Linked DNA regions of Homo sapiens: region 2 is linked to region 1. The links are contacts of gene promoters, found by promoter capture Hi-C in blood cells and fetal thymus (Javierre and others, 2016). All regions are on one chromosome and are shown on one strand. The core of a region is centred on a gene start or on the middle of the fragment in contact, and the rest is flanking DNA. Distances in the headings are between cores, read along the strand shown. Region 1 holds the start of DCTN2 (dynactin subunit 2). Region 2 overlaps NEMP1 (nuclear envelope integral membrane protein 1).

Evidence for each region. The method cuts DNA at HindIII sites, captures the fragments that hold promoters and counts their contacts. A CHiCAGO score of 5 or more calls a contact.
Region 2: a contact is called between a fragment that was not itself captured here and the fragment with the promoter of DCTN2 in region 1, in 1 of 17 cell types (neutrophils). The highest score is 5.3, in neutrophils.

The regions. Positions count from the first base shown.
Region 1 is chr12:57,545,761-57,552,228 of GRCh38, reverse strand. DCTN2 (dynactin subunit 2) reads left to right here and starts at 5,037. Exons shown (of 14, transcript NM_001261413.2): 1 at 5,037-5,201; 2 at 6,133-6,201. The coding sequence starts at 5,166. It overlaps KIF5A (kinesin family member 5A), which reads right to left and starts at 2,185. Exons shown (of 29, transcript NM_004984.4): 1 at 1,829-2,185. The coding sequence starts at 1,957. RefSeq lists enhancers at 1,258-1,850, 4,769-4,908 and a silencer at 2,119-2,458. The HindIII fragment of the contact is 9,827 bases long and covers 1-6,468 here.
Region 2 is chr12:57,056,067-57,063,066 of GRCh38, reverse strand. NEMP1 (nuclear envelope integral membrane protein 1) reads left to right here. Exons shown (of 9, transcript NM_001130963.2): 8 at 2,122-2,295; 9 at 3,008-7,000. The coding sequence ends at 3,188. Among named protein-coding and RNA genes, the nearest start is that of MYO1A, 9.4 kb to the right of the region's middle. The HindIII fragment of the contact is 1,220 bases long and covers 2,635-3,854 here.

The DNA.
Region 1 (6,468 bases), core at 3,788-6,287:
AGGAGTTGGTTCAGTCTTACTGGAAAAACCTCCCAGAGCAAGGAAATTGGGCCTAAAAGTTTTGCCCCCATCATCACCCTCCTCCTGTTTCTCAGCCTTTATGTCTCAGGGGGATCTGAAGCTCCAACTCTCACAACTAATGCTGGCTATCCAGGACACTCTGAGAGGGGTCCTCCAGAGTTGATCCAGGAGTTGTTTTGTGGTTGTTTTGTTTTGTTTTGTTTTGTTTTTAGCCCAGCCAGACTGAACAGACTGCAGGGCCAGCGAGGTCCCTGAAGCAAAAAGAAACAGAGGCCCTCTCCATGTGGCAAATACATACACAGAGAGAGAGAGAGAGAGAGAGAGAGAGAGAGAGACCAAAAGCATCCATTTGAGTTAACAGTGTGGGTAAGGGTGCAAGGTGGTGACAGACTGGGGCCCTTGGGGACTGGTAAGCAGGTCTCCCCCGAAGCATGTTTATTCAAAGTCCCATTCTCACTGACTCAGAAGGCCCAGGCTTCCTCCCCTTCTTTCCTTCATTCCTTTAACAAGCCTGTGTCCAGGTGCTCTGTGCCAAGCACTGTGGATAAAGATACATAAGAAGCACCTCTGACCTTGACTGCCCTCGTACATGCCCCTCCCTCCTCAAGCTAGTTTTTGTTTCCTGGCCCAGCACCCCTCAAGCCCTACAGGACTCGACCCCAGATCTTTTCTCCCCACACACAGCCTGAGGTCCCTACCAACCTCAGGGGGAGTGGGCAAGGCCTAGAATTTCCCTTTGGGCCATTACAGATAAAGGTGCAGAACAGAAACCTGGGTAGGCAATGTGATAGAAGAGATGGGAGGTTTGCAGTCACAGATTTAGGTTCAGATCCATGGATGAATAGCATGACCTTGAGAAAGTTATTCAAGTTCTTTGGGCCTCAATTTCTGCATCTGTAAAATGGAAATATTGATACTACTTCTGAATGTTGTTTTGGGGGTTAAATAATATACGTAGAGTAACAGGCCCACTGTTAATATTAGTTCCCTTAAGATATCCTCCTTGGGTAGGGCTGTCATGATGAGGTAGAGCTGGATGGCTACTTTCTATTGGATCCTCAAGAGAAAGGATGAATAAGCAGGTACTGACTAGGATCTCAGGGTTTGGGCATTTTTCTTTAGGGGGGTCAGTTGGGGAATCTGAAACCCTCTTCCTACTGTACCTGGGACCAAAAGGCAGACCTGACCTTAGGATTCCAGAGGCTCCCCCCAAGATTGGGTGTGGCATCAATGATTTCTTTCCCAGTAAACCCTGCATCAGACCTACTCCCCACAACACACACACAAAAATCCAGGCTATAACTACTTTAGGGAATGATGGAAGGTTTGGTCTTAGAGCCCACTTCCATCCACACTCTGCAGAGACCCTGGACTGCTCACCTCCCATCTAATCCACCCAAAAGTCTTCCGCCTTACCTTCCGGGAGGTGGGGGTAGAGATCTGAGCCAATAACAAAGGGAAGATGCGCTTTCTCTTGGGGAGCGGGTGGTGGAGAAGGGGAAAACATCAGAAAAACATGGGACTGGTTCTAACGGGTGGAGACGCTGCAGACAGCAGCAAAGGGGAGTTGGATCTCCCGAAGGTAGGAAAGCAGCCCCCTGCCACTCTGCAGAGACTCGGCCGCTGGCCTGGCCAGGCCACACCCAGCCATCCTGATGCAGGGGAGAGGAGGGGCTGCGGGGAAGAGGATGAAGGATGAGCGGCGGGGAGGGGGAGCAAAGGGACCAGCAGAGACTAAGGCTCTGCGGGGGGCGGGGAGATTCAGCCACCTGCCCCCTCCCCGAATTCCCTCCTGGGCGACACTCACCCCAATAACGACGCTGTCGTCCCCTTGGAAAATGGGGATGAACTTGTCTCCCCGCAGAATCTCAGCCTGGTTCAGGGGCCGGAATCGGCAGAGCACCTTGATGCTACATTCGTTGTTGGTCTCCGCCATGGTGGTAGCCGGCGTGGGGCTGGGACTCTTCTTGGGCTGCAGGGGTGGTGTGTGCTCCAGAGGAGAGGGCTCTCAGCAGAGGCCGAGGCGGAGGACAGGTGCTCAGTCTCTGGGGACAGAGTTGAGGGCGCCCGGGCGAAGCCTGGGGAGCAGGGCCGGGGCGCGCTGTCTCTCTCCTGCGGCAGCGGGATGCGGGCGACCTGGGCGTCTGGTCCTTTCGGGCTCTCTGCCTCTCCGCCCCTCGCGCTGCAGCGCCGCGCTGCGGGCCTGGGCGGGGCCGCGATGGAGGAGCGGGGGCGGGGCTCCCTCCACTGGGGACGCTGGCTCGACGTCGACCCCCGAAGGGTGGAACCTCACCGCTCCTCTCCTCCCTCCCCCACCCCTAACGTTCGGAGATAACCTTGCCCTCGACCCTTCCCCACCCAACTCACTGCATCCCACCCCTATACCCCCGACCTGTTTGTCCCTCCCTCAGACTCCACCCCCTGGAAGGGATAAGGGGACTGAGGTGGGCCTGTCGCCTGTGTAGCGAAAAGGGTCAACAGATCTCCCTCTCCCTTTATTCCAGGGCATCCCCCAACCCGTCACAGTCCTCTCTCCAAACTGGGATCACACTTCTCATTCTCCCCCTACGCCCATCCCATGCCCCACATGCACGGAAGCTGGACTCCCAACCCACTCAGCTTTCTGGGGGGACCCCTGCCTGTACTCCTATGAAGTTGGGTGTCGTGGGAGGTTCTGGCTACTCCCTTCCCCTTCCACATCCAAAGGTGCACTATACTGTCTCCCCAACGTACACACCAGGTCCCCAGTTTCAGGGAAGATAAACTCCCATTCTGGGTTATGGGAATTCAAAAGCAGATACAATACTTATTTTTGTGTCCTAGGCTGAGGATGGGAGGAAGATGGGTGGGAAACATCTTTGCAAGAGAAAGGGAGTCAGAAAGCAGTGAAGGAGGGGCAATGATGGGGATGGGTAAGGCCAGAGAGACTTTGAAGTCTGAGGCAAAGCCGGCATTTGGGTTTCAGGCAAATTCAGATACCTACGGGAGTGTGTGTTTTCTGTCTCAGTAACCATTGGAGGATAGAGTCCCAATACTTCAGCCCCCTTCCCTGGCCAAAAAAAAAAAGGTGTGGGGGAAGAAAAACGAAAGAAATGCCAAGCCCAGAGATTCCTTGTCCTTCCTTCCTTTGGGTCAGACTCCTGCTGCAGCCCCTGGAAAGAACCACCAAGAAGCTGGCCAAATTGATTTTTCTCCATGTCACAGGCCTCTGCTGGCCAACAGAGAGTTGGACTGCAGGAGTTGAGGTTCTAGGCAAAGAGGAAGGGCAGGGTGGATGGGAGAAGGAGGAGGAAAGGAAAGTTCTGCTCAGCAACTGTCTGGTGAGTGGTTAAGGTCACTTAAGACACTATGGGACAAAAGTAAGAGGCTGATAGCCTGGCCAGACAAGACCTAACTATTCAGAACTCAGGGGGTTTCCCACATTGGGGCTACACCTCTAACCTACCTTGAATCTTAAGGGAACTGAAAGAAAAGAGTCCAACATAAGGAATGGGACAGGAAAGCTGTAGGACTATGGAGAAAGGGATAGAGGCTTGGGGAGGAGCCAGGAGAAAGAAAGACAACGAGTTCCGAACTCAGGAACTCTCTAGTCACTTGGTTTGGCACAATTTCTAAGTGTTGCAGCATCCTGCAAGCTCAGGAAACATCCTGGGAAACATCCCATCCTTGGGTCCCCAGGGGCTCCAAGGTGGCATCTTTAGTAAAGGGGTTTCAAAATGCCAGTCCATGGAGGGTCACTGGTCAGAGACAAAAGTTCACTGAGTATGCCCTCACCTCCAAAAGAACAATGGTGAGTTTTTTTTTAATATAAAGATGGATTTGATAAGTTTCAAAGGACTATCTTTTATTCTGAGTGTGTCCTTCTTGCTTTTCTACCAAGTAATGATGGTGACAGTAAATAATAGGTTTTCTATTTGTAATATACTTACTTGATAAAATAAAAAGGCAAATCTTCAAGGTTTGTAGTTGTTTTAATTTTATTGAACGATGAAATTTAAAAGTCTGAGAACGGAAGGTAAGGTTGGTGAATAGGTACAAAAAATTAGAAAGTATAATAAGACCTACTATTTGATGGCACAATAGGGTGACTATAGTCAAGAATAACTCAACTGTACATTTTAAAATAACTTAAAGAGTAATTGGATTATTTGTAACTTAAAGGATAAATGCTTGAGAGGATGGATACCCTCTTCTCCATGATGTGCTTATTTCACATTGCATGCCTGTATCAAAATATCTCATGTGTCCCATAAATACATACACCTACTGTGTACCCACAAAATTGAAAAAATTGAAAAATAAATAAAAGTCTGAGAACTATTAACGAAGTAGTTAAGAGCCCAGAGAGTGTTCAGACAGACATGGAGACACCACTTACCTACTTATGAACTTCAGATAGAATTGCCAGATTTGAAAAACAAAAAACAAAAACAGGATGCCCAGTTAAATGTGAATTTCAGATACTTAATTTTTGGGGGGTTAGTATACCCACACACCACACACCACACACACACACCTACTTATTATCTGAAATTCAAATTATCTGAAAGCCCTTACTTGAGAAGATTGCCTAACTTTTTCATTCCTAACATACACTACGCGTTTACTAAATTTTACTTCTTGTTTTTATTTTGTTTTTATAATACACAGTATCAAGCAAACTTCTTGTTTTTGAAACCCCGGCTGTGTCACAGTATGACTACCTGTATCATTTAATCTAGTCATTTTATTCCTGGGAGCCCCAAACAGGAATTATAAATGTTCTTTCACTGACTTGCTGTAAAAGTGAGAGAAAAGGCTGTATGAAATAGCTCCCCAAGGTTCGTTATTGTCGCTCCCCGCCCAAGCTCCAGTACACCAAAACTACACATCCCACAATCCTAGGCGGCGTCCCCTGGCCATTACCTCATTCCCTGGCCTCGTTCTCCCCAATCCCGGCCTCTCCAGGGGTGTGGCAGCAGGGCTGTTCTCGCGACTTTTGCTTTACCCTTCTGCTGTGCTACTGCTGTCGCGAGACTTCCTGCTCATCTGCCGCTCCCTTTGCCGCCGCCTTAGCCCGGGACCCGAACCCAGCCTCTCCCCTACCCGAACACCGGCCCCGGCTCCACCGAGGCCCGGGTCCCCCAGCCCGTCTCGCCGCCGCCATGGCGGACCCTAAATACGCCGACCTTCCCGGCATTGTGAGTACAGGACCGGCCCCGGCTCCCCAGGACCGCGCCCCCGACCTCCCAAGGACCCCCAGCAGAAACCAGCCCGCGACCCCTCCCGCCTGCAGCCCATCCTCCGCCCAAGGGCTCCCGCCGCTCGTTCTCCGATCGGCCTCAGCACCCCCCGAACTCTTCTGACCCGACTGGGCCGGGCCGCCGGACGGCGCACCAGGCCCCCTTTCCGGCAGTCGCCGGTAGCTCGGCCCAGAAATCGACTCCGGGTACTGACCTCTTGTGCCTGAGTTTTTCCACCATCCGTGTCAACGCCTCCCATGTCCCCCCCAAATCTCTCCATAAGACCCCATCGCTACCCCAGACACACACACCAGACCACTTAACGATGGCCTTCATCCTGCCAAGGAAGAGGTTCTGCCATCTGGCAGAACCCTCTTGTGCCAGATGGGGAGCTCTATCCTTGAGGGAACCTATGCCCTCCCCCAGCCCCCACTCCCATGACAATCCTGGCGTGTACCTTCCTTTTGTGCTGCCCTGCCTGCTTCTCAAGGTGAGGGTTGGGACACAGGACCTTGAGTACTAAGGTCCTGAGTCACTCTCAATCCTTGTGCCAGGGTGGTGGTGTACGGGGCCTAATTGGAGGATAGCCTTCACCTTCTTTGGCAATAGTGATTGCCAAGGACCTGCCCGCCTCTAGATTTAGGGTAACATCGTTGCTATCACTTACACTCACCGTTTACTGTCAGGTCCCAATTGTTTCCGCTGTCATCCCTACCCCTTGAGACATGGGAACTGACATACTGTTGACTCACGGGGCAGGTGGAGGAGAAAGGACAGAACCCTGACATCACACCCCGCCTTCTCTGTTAGCTTATTCAAATGGAGTGGGGGAAGGGGTGTTGTTGGATGCTGGGTAGTGAGGTTGGGTGGTCACTGCTTCTACCTGCAGGCCAGGAATGAGCCAGATGTTTATGAAACTAGCGACCTACCTGAGGATGATCAAGCGGAGTTCGATGCGGTAAGAATGTGTGCTGCCACAGACTCCTCCGGACTCTGACCTTTCTCCCCTAGACAGGTCCTTCCCTTTCTCGGGGGAGCTACAGCAATAAGCGGGTATGCCAACCCCAGCCTGGGTGGTATATAGGTTGCAGGGCTTGCAAAGACCTTGCTGGGCTTGCAGCCACCAATGAGCAATGGCAGGAGGGAGAGTCAAGTCAGCGGAATTACAGCTAACAACATCTGTTTGCAAAGCCCTGATTCTTGGGCCTTTTAAATAAAATTGAAA
Region 2 (7,000 bases), core at 1,995-4,494, 490 kb after region 1:
TTGCAGCAAGAGGATACAGAGGTGTTGACCTGGGAGCTTCTTTGTTAATGAAAAGTCATTGTATTGTACTTCCACTTTTGTTCCTTCCCGAGTCTATTTTTTTTTTTTTACTTTCTATAGGAATTTTTATATTTTTATTCTAGTCATTTTATATAAAATGTCTAGTAAAATGTCATGTGTTCCTGTTACCACAAGGTGGTGCAAATTCTATCACTGTTTTTTTGAGATGGAGTCTCGCTCTGTCGCCCAGGCTGGAGTGCAGTGGCGTGATCTCGGCTCACTGCAACCTCCACCTCCCGGGTTCAAACGATTCTTCTGCCTCAGCCTCCTGAGTAGCTGGGATTACAGGCATGCGCCACCACATTCAGCTAATTTTTATATTTTTAGTAGGGTTCCCCATGTTGACCAGGCTGGTCTTGAACTCCTGACCTCAAATGTCAGGAGTTCATAAAGTGCTGAGGAGCTCCCAAAGTGCTTGGATTACAAAGTGCTGGGATTACAGACATGAGCCACTGCGCCCCGCCACAAATTGTATCGCTTTTATACCGTATGCTCATTGAGGTCTCCTGGGTTCAGATTTTTTTTTTGAGACAGAGTCTCTCTCTGTCACCCAGGCTGGAGCACAATGGCGTGATCTCGGCTCACTGCAGCCTCCACCTCCCGGGTTCAAGTGATTCTTCTGCCTCAGCCTCCCGAATAGTTGGGACTACGGGTGGGCGCCACTATGCCTGGCTAATTTTTGTATTTTTAATAGAGATGTGGTTTCACCATGTTGGCCAGGGTGGTCTCAAACTCCTGACCTCAGGTGATTTGCCCACCTCAGCCCCACAAAGTGCTAGGATTATAGGCGTGAGCCACCTCACCCAGCCCATTTCAGACTATTTCTCAGTGGCTTTCAGATTGCTCTGGAGGTCTTAGTCTTATTTTAAGATGTAATTCATAGCATGTTTTGTCACCTTGCATAATAAATATGGAATGTTACTAGGTCCTGAAGTTGTCTATTATAGATAGTCAAGGTGATGCTTTCAGTTTGGGAAACCAAGTTACTGGACCACAATCTTTTTTTTTTGAGATGGAGTCTTGCTCTGTCACCAGGCTGGAGTGCAGTGGTGCTATCTCAGCTCACCGCAACCTCTGCCTCCTGGGTTTAAGCGATTCTCCTGCCTCAGCCTCCTGAGTAGCTGGGGTTACAGGTACATGCCACCATGCCCAGCTAATTTTTGCATTTTTATAGTAGAGATGGCGTTTCACTATGTTGGCCAGGATAGTCTCAATCTTGACCTTGTGATCTGCCCACCTTGGCCTCCCAAAGTGCTGGGATTACAGGTGTGAGCCACCTTGCCCGGCGTTTTTTTTTGTTTTTTTTTTTTTTTGAGATGGAGTTTTGCTCTTGTTGCCCAGGCTGGAGTGCAATGGCATGATCTCGGCTCACTGCAACCTCCGCCTCCCTGGTTCAAGCGATTGTCCTGCCTCAGCCTCCCGAATAGCTGGGATTACAGGTATGCACCACCATGCCTGGCTAATTTTGTATTTTTAGTAGAGATGGGGTTCCTCTGTGTTGGTCAGGTTGATCTCCAACTCCTGACCTCAGGTGATCTGCCTGCCTTGGCCTCCCAAAGTGCTGGGATTATAGGCGTGAGCCACTGTGCCTGGCTAGAACCACAGTCTTATACCATGATTTTCTGTTATTTTCCCATCTACTAGAAAATAAGTAAGTATTTTATCATTTATTGGAAAATAAAGTGAGTTTGTTCACATTAGTGAATAATATTGACTATAATTTTTTACTTTCTATAGGCATTTTTATATTTTTATTCTAGTCATTTTATATAAAATAAAAAGGTCTAGTAAAATGTCATGTGTTCCTGTTACCACAAGGTGGTGCAAATTATATCACTTTTTTTTTGAGATGGAGTCTCGCTCTGTCGCCTATGAATTGTCACTCATAGTCTAATGTATCAGGAGTTCATTATAACTAAAGATGTCCATGGAATTTTTAGGAGTGATGACTCTTAATGTTCAGGCTGTCTGCTGTATTCTTGGCCCACTGAAGGGAGCTAGAAGTAAGGATGGATATAGATTACTGATTAATGATTCATAATGTTATTTTGGTGAGCACAGAAAGGTGTGTAAGGGAGCAGAAAAGCCTGTTCCCCCTCGTCTCCTGACAGAAGAAGAATATCGGATACAAGGAGAGGTAGAAACCCGAAAGGCTTTAGAGGAGCTCCGAGAATTTTGTAACAGTCCAGACTGCTCTGCTTGGAAGACTGTTTCTCGAATCCAGTCTCCAAAAAGGTAAACTCGGCCAGATATACCAAGCATCTATCAGGGTAATTGTGACCTTGAGTTCTACCAGAGATCATACTTCTAGAGAATCGTGCACTTGTGACCTTTGTTTTCCTGTTAATCTTCAAGTAGTCAAGAGAAGGGTGGATATATAATCACACATTAAGCAGTAACCTGTTTCCTCAGGGAACTATCTACTCTAGCTTTGATTGTAGCATTAAGATGGGAAGACTCCAGTACCATATTAAGTTTCCCTTCTGAAAGTTTTGCATTGCTGTCTGAGTTGGTAGGGTTCCCCCCTACCCACTTTTTAGTTGGGGGCAAATGTACCAATGAGTATGTGAAGCTTCAATTTGGAATCATGATGGCATAAAGTTTACAGGGCCATAAACGTGAATAACTGTAATGCCCCTTAATCTTCTCTTATCAGGATTACAGATGACTAAAGGAACCTTGGCACTTTCATAATTAGAAAGGATAGGCAAGTGCTTATTAAGCAGGATGGAGTTGCAGGGGTATTAGCCTATGATCCCAGCTTTCCTTTTCTCCTTAACTTCATGCTTTAGTCTACTTACCTGCCAGAGTAAGGACAAGGATGTTGGCTAGACTTAATATAATTTGAGTTGCGAGCATATCGAGGGCTTTAATTTGTTCTTATTTTGAAAGAAGACCAGAAAGGACAGAAGGATATTTCTAACGAGTATTATCTTCTCTTTTCCAGATTTGCTGACTTTGTGGAAGGCTCTTCCCACCTCACGCCAAATGAAGTTTCTGTCCATGAGCAGGAGTATGGATTAGGGAGCATTATTGCCCAGGATGAAATCTATGAGGAAGCATCCTCTGAGGAGGAGGACTCATATTCTCGGTGTCCTGCTATCACACAGAACAACTTTCTAACCTAGGTAGTGGTCAGTTATCTTTACGTGGACTGGCTTGGTGCCTTGGTCCATGTTGCATGTGTTGTGCAATTGCTTTCAACCCTTTGAAACAGAGTGAGATAGATAGGGTAGAAATTCTCCTACTGAAATAAGAGGCCTAAAAAGGCCTCCCTTTGGAAATGGGAGGTCTCTATGGGATCCCTGAGGAAGGAGAGTGGATAAAGTAGTGAATGCTGGGTAGTTCACTTCCCATTGGTTAAGCTAACAGCCCACTTTTATGTTTCCAGAGAAATTGGATGGCCACAGCTAGCATGGCATTCTAGCTCCTTCTTGAAAGTTGATTCAATCATGGCATTTCTGTCACTGGCTGGCTCTCCAAAGTAAGAACTGTTGTTAAGTGCAGGAATGCTTTTAGACTATAGGCTGCAACTTCCAGAGAGAAATCCACAAATCTGAGCCTCCTTCACTCCAGCTTTTATTTCAGTGACTTTAGAATAATTATTGATTTAACTGTTTTGGGAGGAAAATAGATTTTTATTGTTTTGTTTTTTAAATGAATGTCTTTTAAAAAACATAACAAACTCATGTTCCAGAACCAGCAAGTGCTCCAGAGTGACACACCCCCTAGGCCCCTACATATTTATTAATATGGATTATCCATTAAAGCCCCAGGAGCTGTTGTTTTAAGCTTTGATTTAGTTCTCATACATATGATAGAAAGTCCTATTTGCCTTTAGGAACATGCCTGTAGGCTCTTCTGCAGGTGAGATGTACTGGGCTTTTTATTATATTCAACTTTCAATTCCATCTTAAAAAACATTTGTATTCTTCTCTTCCCATTCTTCCTTACCCTGCCTTTGCCCTTTCAGGAAGGGTCAGTTCCCTTACCTGTGAACTATGTATGTTCAGAGTAGCATTATTCCTGCTAGCTAGGAGAAGTCATCTTGTTTAGGGGATTTGGATGCTTTTTATACGTTCTCCATTTTCCTGTCATTGGGTCATGTTATCTTTGAGTTGCTATGAAATCAGGAAACTGTCTCCTTTTCCTTTCCCTTCCTTTGTCTACATGCTCTGTCCATTCCTTTCAGCCTTTTCTCACCACCCATACTCCCCCAAATCTGGGTAATTTTTAAGCCTTGAAACTATGTAGTTTCTTGATACACAATTTGTAGTTATGCAGCAGCCACAATTTGCATTGCCAGGAAATAGGCTCCAGGTTATCTTCATGCCTCTGGGTGCTCATTCAGCTGTCAAGTTTCCATGAACTTACACTTATTTATGATTGCGTTTCTGACCTGAGATGTATGCTGCCTGTTATTGCAGTAGCATTAGTTTCAGATTCTTTTGCCATTGCAAAGTACCCCTTATAAACCAGCAATGTCATCTGTGAGGAAGCAAATTCTCAAGTGTCTGTCATTTACTTGGTTCTTTTTCTTTGTGGTCTTCACCCTTATACCCTGGAAAAGTCTGTAATTACCTTAGCCAGGAAGATAGATGGTCATGGCAAGCGCACAGCACCAGACTTACTGGCTCACCAAGATGATGGAAAAAGGCAGATGATTTTTTAAAAAGCCGTAATGACTCCTTTAGACCAGCCATTTAGCGTGGTAATTTTGAAAGGCCTAGCTCCATTGCAGACTTCCAAAGGGTCAGCTCTGAGACTGCCCTCCAGGTGGGCAGTTGATTATTTCCACCAGTGTTTTCCAGAGCCTTAAACTGTCCTAAGTGACAACTACCTCAGTTGGCAGGAAAGAGACATATAGTAGAAAGTGAAAAATGAGCAGTATTTGGGCAGATGCTATGGGTTACAGTTGAAGGGTAAAAGGAACTTTACATTGGGAAACCTTTATACCCTTGTGAATTATGTACATGGTAAAATGTTCTCTCTCTACAAAGAACTATTAAAACTTCTGAAATATACTATTTTTTACCTTATTTATAGAAATTGAGACCTAGCATATTTAAGCATAAGTTTATTTTAAAAAATAATTCAACTCGTGCAAGTGGTCTCAGGATTCTCTGGAGATTTTGGTGCCTCCCCTACTTAGGGAGGTGATAGCTTGCCTATAAGGGTGACTTTTCCTGATCATGTCTTTATTTCAATGAGAAAGCACTGTGAAATTGTGAAAGATTCTCCTCTTTCTCTGTTTAATAAACCCCCATGAAATATAGTTTCCATCTCTAGACCAGTTTTTTTTCCACCGTGTTTAGACTTGAGGTGAATAAAATCAAACTGTTTTTTACTCCCTATCTGGTAGTTGGAGACCTGAGCTGTAGGCAGTGGAGATGGCAATTGGTTCTGCAGCCTGAGAGTTGCTCTCACACAGTGAAGGACGGTGCTGCTCTGGTGTGCTGTGTGTCCTTGCCCTGCCTGCCTGTGGCTCTGCCCAGATGCTTCAGATCCTCTGTGTTCCGGAGATTGCTTGACTTCAACCTTCTTTAGGAGCTGCTCTTGTCTCCCTCTTGGCCACTTAGTTTGCTGGCTCAGTCACTACTTGAAGACCCCATTTAATTTTTCTCTGGCAGTTATAGCTCTTGTGATTTCAGTACAGTCTCATCTCTCAGACCAATCTCATCAAGAAGGATTGAAGGGATAACTATGAGGTAAGCTGGACATTGGAGCCGTGTTTGCTGCCACGTCAGCGTCTTGCTGGGTGAATGTCAAGCCATAAATGGGCTCCAGGGCTCTGGATCTCATCAGCATTGGAAATCTATTGCCTCTCATCAGTCTGACCAAATTATGTAGAGCATTAATGTAGAGACTCCCATTAATGGGAATACAAGAGGCAGCTGGCATAAAACATTTCTTTCACTTTCCTTTCCCACTCAGATTGCTTCAAGAGACCAACAGAACACAGGGATCAAAAACAAGGAAAATTTAGCAACTTCATTACCTTCTAATAAGTAATTCCTGTTAGCCACTGCATCCCACCAAAACTAGTTTATTTTTCCCCTCAAATTCATGATTTTTACGTCTGTTACAAAGGGAATTTTGCTGATAGCTCTTTGGGTCCCACTGTTCCATTTTATGCTAATAGATTCCATTCTAGGGCCCAGCCGTCTCTTGACTGATGGTGTTCCCTTTAACCCTTGGCATGTATAATAGAATTTTGGTGAATGAAAGAACCCAAATAGGCCAGATAGTCCCCCCAGGCCCTGATATCCATAAAAGGCTTGGGAATGCATTATGTAATTGTCCTTAGTCTTTTTGTTGTTTTAGAAAAAAAAAACAAGATGGGCTCAGATGGATGCCTACGTAAAAATGGTTCCTAGCTGTGTACTCATAACTTTTCTTTGAATTGAGTAGTGAAAGGAAGGAGGAGGAAAGGAAATTAAATGTCCTTCTAGTATTCTCTGGACTCAAGTCTGACATATGAGATAATAACCTATATTGAAATGCCAAGAATTGTATCTGAAACAAGAGAACAGTTTGACACATTTATCATGCCTTCATATTACATATTAACTGAAACCAATTAATAAACATATGAAATATCCATTGCACAAGGCAAAGGCACCTAAACCTTTTGTTTCTTTTTCTACATAGCAGAAATTGATTTTTTTTTTATTTTTTTAGGGGAACCTATATAATTATGACCCAGTGATGTCTTTTGGTGACTTAAGCTTATGAATTCAGGTTACAATTGAGTTGATTCTAGATGGTTACTACCTTGAAAAGGATGTTGGTGCCTTATGTGACACGAGCCAGAGCCTGCTGGGAATAAACAAAGCAGATTCATGCCAACACCAACTCGTAGCTTTAGTGGCAGATGGGAGTGGTCACAGACTCCCAAAATGTGGGGCTTTGGATTTCCACACCATCCCACGTGTGTGTC